Linked DNA regions of Homo sapiens: all the other regions are linked to region 4. Evidence: promoter capture Hi-C in 16 types of primary human blood cells and fetal thymus (Javierre and others, 2016). All regions are on one chromosome and are shown on one strand. The core of a region is centred on a gene start or on the middle of the fragment in contact, and the rest is flanking DNA. Distances in the headings are between cores, read along the strand shown. Region 1 overlaps KIAA0825. Region 2 overlaps LINC02058 (long intergenic non-protein coding RNA 2058). Region 3 has its middle 36 kb from the start of LINC02058. Region 4 holds the start of NR2F1-AS1 (NR2F1 regulatory antisense RNA 1).

What was found. The method cuts DNA at HindIII sites, captures the fragments that hold promoters and counts their contacts. A CHiCAGO score of 5 or more calls a contact.
Region 1: a contact is called between a fragment that was not itself captured here and the fragment with the promoter of NR2F1-AS1 in region 4, in 1 of 17 cell types (fetal thymus). The highest score is 6.9, in fetal thymus.
Region 2: a contact is called between a fragment that was not itself captured here and the fragment with the promoter of NR2F1-AS1 in region 4, in 1 of 17 cell types (endothelial precursors). The highest score is 5.5, in endothelial precursors.
Region 3: a fragment that was not itself captured here is called in contact with the fragment with the promoter of NR2F1-AS1 in region 4 in 1 of 17 cell types (endothelial precursors); the score reaches 5.9 in endothelial precursors.

What each region holds. Positions count from the first base shown.
Region 1 is chr5:94,523,531-94,526,230 of GRCh38, forward strand. KIAA0825 reads right to left here. Exons shown (of 21, transcript NM_001145678.3): 4 at 400-568. Among named protein-coding and RNA genes, the nearest start is that of KIAA0825, 94 kb to the right of the region's middle. The HindIII fragment of the contact is 531 bases long and covers 1,015-1,545 here.
Region 2 is chr5:92,928,588-92,931,287 of GRCh38, forward strand. All of the region lies in intron 1 of LINC02058 (long intergenic non-protein coding RNA 2058), which reads right to left. Among named protein-coding and RNA genes, the nearest start is that of LINC02058, 9.8 kb to the right of the region's middle. The HindIII fragment of the contact is 943 bases long and covers 795-1,737 here.
Region 3 is chr5:92,902,055-92,904,754 of GRCh38, forward strand. No RefSeq gene overlaps it. Among named protein-coding and RNA genes, the nearest start is that of LINC02058, 36 kb to the right of the region's middle. The HindIII fragment of the contact is 5,814 bases long and covers 1-2,700 here.
Region 4 is chr5:93,579,872-93,582,571 of GRCh38, forward strand. NR2F1-AS1 (NR2F1 regulatory antisense RNA 1) reads right to left here and starts at 1,348. Exons shown (of 8, transcript NR_186187.1): 1 at 1,271-1,348. RefSeq lists an enhancer at 1,524-1,623 and a silencer at 1,744-1,793. The HindIII fragment of the contact is 7,751 bases long and covers 1-2,700 here.

The DNA of each region.
Region 1 (2,700 bases), core at 30-2,529, 940 kb after region 4:
ATGGGGATCTTATTATGCTTTAATAATGAGCATATAAAAAATGAATAGTGAAAGGATACAAAACATAATGAATATGAACTTTTCTGGTAGACAGCTGTGATACACATCAATACATTTTGTGGTATTGATATGATATATATCATACCACAAATCACCCAGGAATCATAATATTGTATCTCCATTTATATAAAATTTTATTTTATTGATAAAAATCATAGTTAAAAATTAAAACAAATAGCTCAGTGGATTATGTTGGGGATATAGGAACATAAAAACACAAACCCCTATGTATGGCAGGCTAATATGGTCACTCAAATAAATATTTACGTATAGAAATTGAATGAGTTGTATTCCCTGTTTACTCATCCCACTCCATGATAAAATAAAAATTCATTTTACCAGTGTTTTGAAAAATTTTATCAAGTCTCCATGAGAAATGAAAGATGATTCAGATGTACTGTAATTATAGTTAGTTAGCCATTCAAAGCAGTCAGTTGTTGTTTGCAGCTGCACACCTGGACATTGTTTGTTAATTTCGGACTGTATCTCTTTAATGCAATGTTTTATGCTATAAAAAACAGAAGAAAAAGTTATTTTGGCAGGATATAGATAATGGCTTCATTTCATAATATCACAGGCCCTGAAATCTTCATATGTGGTACCTGGCTTTGTACAATTTACAAATTCATTCATATGATATGAAAATAATAACAGACTATACATTCATAGTTGAAAGCTGAGAGTTCAAATTTTCTGGCAGTAAAAAATGTGATAGAGGAAATATAAAATAGCTACTCAGATGAACTAGAAATTCTTTTGTGTTGAAACAAAAATCAAGCATAGATGCAATTCGATAATAGCCCTCTTGATAGGCAGTGGATGAAAGGGAGAGATAAAATACTGAACACTGTAAATATTAGAAATATACATTATCTACTAAGAGGTGAAGGACTATATAAATTATGAAAAATTTCAATCAACGGAATAGTAAGAAGTCATGAAGTAGTTATAAAAAGCTTATAATTTTAAAAGTTGTAAAGTATACAAGCTATATACACAATGTTACTACAGCCAAATACCTTTTCCTGCCATCCAACTCCACTACAAAAAACAGAAACAAAAATTACTAAAAATTGCATTTAAAAAACGACTGGAAGGAAATGAAGCAAAGGGTTAATAGCAATTATATTTGGGTGGGTGTAATTAGGTAAGTTTTAAATTTTACTTTTCCATATTTTCTAAATATTTATAAGGCATAAAATAAAATGCTTCATTCACCAAAAAAGTAAACCAAGAACAGTGAAAAAATGTCCAGTAGAATCTTGCCATATGTATCTGTTTTAAAATTTCCATTCAAAGTATCCTTCCTGTTGATAAAATAACAGATACACTATGTTATTTTAATTTCCATACACACTTATGTGCATTGATGATTATAAATCTTTGTGGGGTAAACTGGTGACCTTTAGCAGAGTGCCATCTGCAGAGCCACAGGGATATGACATATTACTACCACCTGATGGCAGCATATCTAAACTTCAAGAAAGCTTTCAAACAGGCAAATTCCTTTGAAGCTGAAACACCTCACCAAAAATTGACAGCTATGCATTTGTCTCTTAATCATATTAAGAAAGATTTGATACTAAGAGGTAAAGTTAGTGTTTTGAAAACGTAACTGCTATTAATTAAAGGTTCCATATGATAGAACCTGGTAGGCTTTAGAAACCAAGCGCTCATTATTAAAATAGATGTCATACGAAAGACTCTTTGAAATTCATCCAGGTGTGGGTTGCCTATAAAACATACACTGTAAAAGTTTAAGTAAAAGTTTTCAGGAGACTTCTGAGCATGAGTGAATTCAAAGTAAATTACCTTGAAACAAATACATTCTGAGAATCAAAGAGCCTTTTCATGAACACAAAGAACTTAAAAGGAAAACAATACCTCCTCTGGCCACAGGCCACTCAATTTCCTGATGGGACAGCCATATTCAGGAATACCACTTCTACGTCTGACAAGAGATTGGCTTGTATTTTCTTAACTTATGTAAGCACTTCTATGGACAGAGAAACACAATGCCCTAAGCATACCCCTTGACTCTAGGGACTCTTTATCAAAGGTTTTTATTATAGCATCCTCATGTGTCTCATTCAATGAAACCTAATAGATTACAGCAATGTGAATTGGAAAGGCTCAGCAGTTAGTCTACCTAAATCTGTTTCAATGAGGACTCAGATTTTAGGCTAATTTCTAACATCCGAATCTGGGCAGAGGCCAAAAACTACAATTTATAAATAGGGTAAAGCCTTTAGAGGGCTAGATATTTTGGTAATTTGTCCAAATACTGACAAAGGGATTGAGTGGTTGCATTTCAGGGGATCTCCCTCATTGATACAAACTAAGACAGATAAACTTTATTTTAAAATCATTTTGTCACAAATTATAAAATGTCAGAACTAATTATCTACACCTGATTTTGTTTTTAGTTGGCTGTCTTGTTGTCTGCCACTCACCAATGCCTATACACCTTGTTCTAAAAACTTAATCATCTGAAGTCTAGATATTTCTTGTCCAATTGTTATACAAAATAAATATTTTCAAAATTTATGATAAATGTCAGTTTGGTATGTAATCTGACAATTTATCTTCTTTAATCAAAATAAATTACAACTTAATTTTCACCATTTAAAAGGTAACATT
Region 2 (2,700 bases), core at 16-2,515, 650 kb before region 4:
TGATTGTTTAATAAACTATAAAATATTTAGAAACTATCTCAGCCTTAAAATCAAATTTTTAACATGTTGCTAAAACTCACCAAGATATAAGAATCATTTTGGTGTTTTTAAATAGCTAAGACCAAAAATCATGGCTGCTGCGTACAAATGAGTAAATGGAAAGAAAATGCCAAAAAAAAAAAATTATGAGAGTTAAAGGCAGATAACTTTATTGGAATTCTTCTGATTCTTATTAGACCAAAAATTCAGTTAAACTACTTTTCATTAAACACCAGTTATAATCCCAAGCAACTTTTTAACCTCTCATGATGATGCTAAAAAATTTATCCACTGAGTAAATATATCCATTGGGTGTCTGTTACATGTCAACCAAGAAATACAAAAGGAATAAGCAAGACCAAGCCTTCATGGGATCTTATATTATGCACAAGAAAAGAAAAGTTAAGACATAAATTTTTTTAAAGATAAACAATAGAAACGGTTAGATATCAATAACTATAATACAATGCAAAGAATTAAAATTGGATGATGTCAGGTGAGTAATCAGCTACCTGTTTTAGGATGGGCAGAAAAAGCCTCTCTGAGGAGGTTGATATTTAAGCTGAAAATTACAAATGATGACAAGAAGTCAGCCATGAAAAAATAGAGAAAGTATTTCAAGTAGCAGAACAGTTGAGGCAAAACAAGTTTGCCAAGTCCAAGCAATAAAAAAAAGACCATTTTGATAGAATCATAGGTGGAGATATAAAGAGTAATTGAGGGGTGGTTAAAGAAGCAAGCAGGGGTTAGAATAAAGCTTTTTAATTCAGAGAAGGCTTTAGGTCTGATGATGGAAAGCCACTGGAGGATTTAAGCATGGTAATGGCACGATCTCTATTATTCTAAAATATCATTCTGGATGCTCTGTGTAGAAAAGATTGGAGGTTAAAGAAGGAAATCATTTAGGAGACTATAGCCAAAGTGGCTTGGACTATGATCATGGTAGAGATAGAAAGAAGTGGGAAATTTTGGGATTGTTTTAGAAATGTTTTAAAAGGAGAATTGCTAGCACTTGCTGATGAAACTGACATAAAGGATGAGGAGAATAATAAGAATAATTTTTAGATTTTTTTGTTTGTGTTTTGTTTATTTGAGCCACTGGATGGATACTAATACTTTTTACCTAAGTGGGAAAGACTCATGTAAGAGCAGGTTTGGGGGAAAATGAAGTGTTCTGGATTTAGCCATGTTAAATTGGAGACGCTGTTCAGTAAAGGGTTAATTCAGACTTGTGGTGTTCAAACCCTTCACCTTCCAAAAAAGGACTGGCTCTTGACCAGCTTCTGAGATAGGTCTATAAGCTCTTGAAATATTCTGCATGATAAGAGTGTCTTTGTATACCTGGGGTCTTGCTAACAATGTGATTTATGGTAAACACCTGTTTTTGTTTTCTGGGTCCCTGAGACTATATCCGTTTGACCTAAGGTTAATCATATAGGTGCTGCATGCCTATATGAGCGACTCACAGTCAAAACCATGCACATCAGGACTCAGGTGAGCTTCCCTGGTTGGCAGTACTTTTCATGTATTATCACACATTATTGTTGGGAGAATTAAGTGCTGGCCATACAATGTTACCCGGAGAAGACAACTGGAAGCTGCATCTGATTTCCTCTGTACTTTGCCCTCTGTACCATTTTTTTTTCTGATTGCAATCTGTATCCATTCACTGTAACAAACTGTCACCATGAGTACAAAAGCTTTTCTGAGTTCTATGAGTCCTTCTAGAAAATCATTGAATCTGAGAGTAGCTTTGGAGACCCACAACACAGATGTTTATTAGATATCGAAGAGGAGATATTTTATAGGCTGTTGGCTAAGTGAATTGAGAATTCTAGGAGGAATCAAAACAGGAGATAATGATTTTGAGAGTCATGGGCATATAGATGATAGTCTAAAATGTGGGAAGTTCCCCTAGGAAGTGTCTCTAGGAATATCACCTACAATGTCTGCTATTTTTAAAAAGTTGAATTGGATTAAGTCCCTGTTTTTAGGAGCTCCTGTTATTGACAGGAGCCCGGAAGACACATTGGAGATGGATGCAGAAGCTACCACCTATAAATGGAGAAGAAATTCAGAAGGGGCAGCAACTAGATGCAGTAGAGAAAGAGGTCCCAGAGTAGGGCTCATTGGTCCAGGACCTTGAAGAATGAGTAGTATCTTCCTGGTCACTTGGAAAGGGCTCACATGCAAAGAGGAAACAAAACACTCATACTTTATTTAATTTTATGAAGCTATAATACATTTAGTGATTTAGCACTTTGGGAAGGAACTTAAAATACTCTGATAGGCAGAATAATGGATTCTTAAAAATGTTCACATCCTAATCCCAAGAATCTGTGAATATTACCTTTCACGGCAAAGGGGCCTTTGCAGATGTGTTTATGGATGACATCCTGGGTTATCCAGGCAACCCAATGTAATCACATGAGTTCTTCAAAGTGGAGTTCTTTGCCTGGCTGTCATCAGAGAAAGATGTGACGAGGGAGGCAGGGTGAGGGAGAGGCAAATTTACTGGTCTTGAACATGAAGAAAGGAAGGAGTACATGGGCGAAAGAATGCAGAAAACCTCTAGAAGCCAGAAGAAAAACAAGGAGAAAAATTCTTCCCTAGAGCTTCTGGAAGGAAAATAGCCTTGCCAAAGTTTTGATCAATGGGCAA
Region 3 (2,700 bases), core at 182-2,681, 680 kb before region 4:
TCAAGAATCAATAAATCCTTCATTTCATACCTAAAGGATAAATCTTGTACTCTCCTTCTTTTTAAATCACAGCCCCTTTTTCAAAAGAATGAAAAGAATTCTCAAATTTATGAGGTTTTACTTGTTTAATTTGTGCTTAATGTTTTTGGAAAATTCCAATTTGGAAATTGCAAACTCAAATACCTTGGGGGCCAGGGTAAGGGTCCAGCTCTGGCTTCAGGGTATAGGGCTCACTCAATAGCATTTACATTAAAGAAAAGTAAACTTAAGTGCACAGGAAGAATTCAGGTCCACTAGTTTGTCATCTTTGAATAAAACTTCTCTTTCCTTTCCTGAAATCCCAGACTATATCCTATGCTTTATTTAATATTTCTGGAAATGAAGTTTCTGCCCCAAAAAAGTATTGTTAGAATATATATTTCATTAACTACCTTTACGTATTATTTGTGTCCTATGTTTACTGCTGTTTCTCATTACTAAATGTACTAGAAGAAGAATATATGTTTAATAAGAATGTTGTTTATAATTGTATTCCTATGTGTGAGATACTGTGCTATATATGTCCAAGATCTGCTGGTTAAAACACACACACATACTGCTTTGGTATAAATATGTTTTGGATTGTTTTGTTTTTTAAAAGTATATTGACATCTTAAAATCACACAAGAGATGTTTAATACACAAGATTGCTCACTTAGCAAGTTGATTCTTAGAGGAAATATAAACAGTAAAATTATTAAATAATGAAAACAAAGTTTAAACAACAAAACCAGAATGGATACAATAAAATGAGTATTGCCAATTTCAAGTTAGTCACTATAAGAGGGCAGACCCTTATTCCACTGTTCCGAATATTTTTGGAAGTCCTCTTTCAGGAATTCTTAGGTATCTTTGGTATAGACCCTTTGAAATATTCTTAGTGATGGTGCATCTTCATCAATTGAGGTCAGATTTTATTTTTAGAAAGAGCAGAAAGCCAATCAAAGCCAAGTCTGCTGAATGAGATAAGTGATCAAGCTGAGTCTTTTCACTTCTGATCAAAATCAAAGCACAGTTATAAATCCCAAAGTGATGTGTTTATGTGGCTTTATAAGTTTCTACTGGCATTAAAGACAATTTTAGAGAAAACTTACAAATATGTTCTGAGTATCATTAAAATATGTTATTAACTACCTAAGATAATGACTTTGAAGAAAAAATTCATTTGGATGTATAGCTTTTAATGTACTTTTTTTTAAAAGGAGAAAAAACTAGGGTTTTTTTCAAACACTATACATCAAAATGAAATCTAGGTGAACTAAAAATGTATTTTTATAATTAAACCATAAAAATCTAGAATAAATTATAGCTGACTTATCATAACAAGAAAGTGAGAAACTTTAAGGAGCATATTAAAATAATTGGTTAAAAAATAATGTATCAAAAAATGCATTTAGAAAATTAAAAGACAACATATGGAAAAATGAGGTTTAGTAAATTTACACATTTTTAAAATAAGATATTTTTCACATTAGAAAAAAGCCTTAAATTTTTATACTCACTGGAAAAAAATACAAGTGCTCTCTTAGGCTATAGGATTATAAACTGGCACAACCTTCCTCTAAGGCAAGTTGGCATATGTAAGAAATGCCTGAAAAATGTGCCTTTGACCAGTCAGTTAATTTATAAAAATATATTTAAAGAAAGTATTATGAATGTGCACAAAAATTTTTATTCAGTTGAGTTCTGTGTACTAGTGAAAGAAAGAAAAATAATCTATGCCCAACTATTAGAGGGTTAAATTAATAAATTTTGATATTTCCATATAATAGAATAAACAATGAAAGAACAAATGTTGATAATACCCATGTTGTCAAACAATAACACAACTACAGCTATTTTACTTCTTTCAACAAACATTGAATCTATTTTCAAGTAATCTTAATTCAATTATTTAATGAAAAATAGACCATTGACATCTGGGGCTGTGTGTGTGTGTGTGTGTGTGTGCATCACTGATTTGTACTTTTGAAACACTCCTATGCTGGCTATGTTGTAATTTCTTTTCATTTCTCCTGGATAAAGAATTATCTCTATTTGTAGAAGTTTTCTCACTAACAATACCATGCACTTTAGTCTACATTAGAATGAAGCTGCACAGGACTCTGCTTCTTCTTCTGCCTGTACAGAGCTGTCTTCTTCAATGAGCACATTGTACTGCTTTTCCTTCTCTTCCGGAGAGAGGAGGTTTCAGAGAAAGTGATATAAAGTTTGTGATTATCGCTTCAGAATTGAAACTGTTTTTACTGGCCCTTTAAATCATAGAGAACAATACTGCCCAAGCCACTGATATCCTATCTATATCGGGTGGCCACTTAAATGTTATTTTTCTGCAGATCTTTGCACCTTTTCACATGTGTTTTCTTTAAGTTAAAACAAAAATAAATATGTTTTTGATTATTCATTTATTTCGGTCTGTTAAAACTTGAGCTCCTTCAACTTATTTCGTGTTGGTTTAATTGCTTATAGAGGTTAAAATACTTTCAATGAAATAACCAATCTTGTACTCATTCTACTACGTAACAGAGGGTATTTTCTTAGGATTTGTAAGGAAAATTCCCGAGTACCTTTTAGAAATTTTAGTATGTCTCAATTAAAATAAAATATTATTTTTTTGAAAAAAAGCTAAAATGTGTCAATTAGAAAAATGAGACTTATTGA
Region 4 (2,700 bases), core at 98-2,597:
GCTCGATGTCCCTTTTAATCCGCTGACACTATCGCCCACATCAGACAGGCAGCCATCGATCGCGTTACATTAGGGGATGGCGTTACAAACGGCGTCCGCAGGTGGGCGGCTGCAGCCAAGCTCGCCAGGTTCAGGCCGTAACCAGGCAAGGCGCGGGCACAAGGGCCAGCCGGGCCGGACTCTGCAGCCGGCTCCACCGCGGGTCGCGCTCGGCACCAGCAGGAACAGCCGGGCCGGTGTTAAACGTGCGGGTCCCCGTCCTCCGCCCGGGCATCCGTTTCCCGCCTAGGAGAGAGAGGGAATAGCGGGTGGGGGTGGGAGCAGCCTGTTTTGAATGTGGATTGCTGCTCGCCTGGCACGATCCTCCCCTCCAAGGAGGCGCGGCGGCCGCGATCCTCGCCTTAGCGCTACGGCGAGACAGAGGCCGAGCGAGGGCAACTCCCGAGCAGGCCCCGAAGAAAGTTCTCCTCGTCCCGCCCTGGCTGCCTAGACTCTGCTCTCGGCCTGCGGAGGCCGTGCGAGCCAAGACTGCCTCCCGGCCCTGCCCGTTACCAACCCCAAGTTCAAGAGAAACGACAACCATTATGTTACTTGCCTGGTGAGGCAGGATTTGGCCGAGTCTCGTTTCTGGTGCCCACGACGCACGGTCCAGGGTCCGAGGGCGGCTGGGCCGGCGGACTGGGCATCCAGTGTGCCTGCGGTGCCCTGGCGCTCGCTGTCGCTGGTCTCCCACTCCCTTCGTCTCTCTCCGCGTTCTCCTTCCCTCGCCCTATCTCCCTCTCTCCGCCTGCTGCCTCTGCCCTCGACTCCCTGCCTCTGACTGTATGGGGAGTACGATTTAGAATCTGTACATAGAAAGGTTTTCTTTTCTTTCTTTTCTTTTGGTCTATTTTAATCGTGTTCGTTTCACCTTTTAACTGACCAGAAGACGGGAGCGCGTTTGCGCGTTTATTTGGGCATAGGGACGAGGGCAAGGAGCCCCTGCTACCCCCAGTCGCCTCCTCGCCATCAGCTGCGTACAATGGGCCACCGCTCGCGGAGTGCATTGACAGTTCTCCATTATTCGAGCTGGAGGGGCTGTGGGGCAGGCACGGGAAAACCTTTTATTCTGCTCTTTAAAATCATCGCTCGTCACTAAGCGGTCGCCGACTCCCGACTTGTAGGCTGGAGAGACCAGGAAGCGCAAAACGTCCCCCAAACACGCAGTGCTTCCCAAACCCCTCCCTGGTGAGACTTAAAGTGAGAACGAGTATTAAAAAACAAACCCTACCTCTGTCAATACAGCGTGGCCATTTACTTCCACCTTTACCTGAGGGCGTGTTGGCGCTAGGAATGCTCGAGCTGAGACAAACTTTTACGCCCTCGCGAGTCGAGGGGCGGGCGGGCGAGCGCGGCTCCCACCCCCGGCGGCGGCAGCGGCGGCTTTGTCACTCCGCGCGGCTCCGCGCCCGCCTGAGCCTGCCTAGGGGAGCGATCTCAAAACGAGGGGGGTGCGAGTATGCGATTGGAGAATATGTAACTAATAGAAGTATCATTTTCCCCCAGTACGATCTTTCAAGGAAAAAAAAATCCATTGAAAGAATTTTCAAAGTGCTGTCTTCGTTTGGAGAAAAGGCACAGGCTGCCTGCGGGGAGGGGAGGAGGGACTCGGCTGTGTGCCGCCCGGGAGCGGCTCCCGTCCGCTAGGTGGCAGCCGGAGCCAGCGATTCCTGCAAGCCCCGCCGCGGGACCCGCTCCTCCCGCCTGCCCCTCCTCCCGCGACCAATCACCTTCAGGATTCAGGAATCGGGGTCTCGGTCTCTCTCTCTCTCTCTCTCTCTCTCTCTCTCTCTCTCTCTCTCTCTCTCTCTCTCTCTCTCTCTCCCCCTCTCCCTCTCCCTCTCCCTCTCCTCTCTCCCTCTCCCTCTCCCTCTCCCTCTCCCTCTCCCTCTCCCTCTCCCTCTCGTCTCTCTCTCTCTCTCTCTCCTCTCTCTCTCTCTCTCCTCTCTCTCTCTCTCCTCTCTCCTCTCTCTCTCGGTCTCTCTCTCTCTCTCTGGGTCTCTCTCTCTCTCTCTCTCTCTGGGTCTCTCTCTCTCTCCTCTCTCTCTGGGTCTCTCTCTCTCTCCTCTCTCTCTCTCTCCCCTCTCCTCTCTTCTCTCTCTCTCTCTCTCAATATCTCGCGCGCTCTCCTCTCTCCTCTCTTTCCTTTCCTCTCCTCTCTCTCTGTCTCTCTCTCTCCTCCTCCCCCTTTTCTCTCTCCCTCTCCGCCTCCCCCCCTCTCCATCTTCTCGTTTGTTTGCTCTTTTCCCGGGACTGACTTGGCCACACTAATCTCCCCCCACCCTGCAACAATATGGGGACTTACTACTGTTTTATTAATAATGATTGAAGCATTGTTGGAGTTTGGAACAGCCAGGTGATAAAAAAAAAAAAAAAGAAGAAGGAAAAATTGGATTGATTGGAAAGTTTATTTTTAAAATCATCTTTGGGATAAATAGGAACCCTTGATTCCGATCGAATTTGTGGCAATAGCTGCAAATTCCAGGAGTGTGCTTTGTCATCATTAAACCTTTTAAACCAAGGTATACTTTGGATTAAAAAATAGGGAGATCCTACCCTGTTTCTACTTGTTTCTAAAAAGGATATAAAATGAGCAGAATCCAGACTTGGATTGTGCTTATATGTGAGAGAAGAAAACAATCCAAATCCAGTATATTTCAC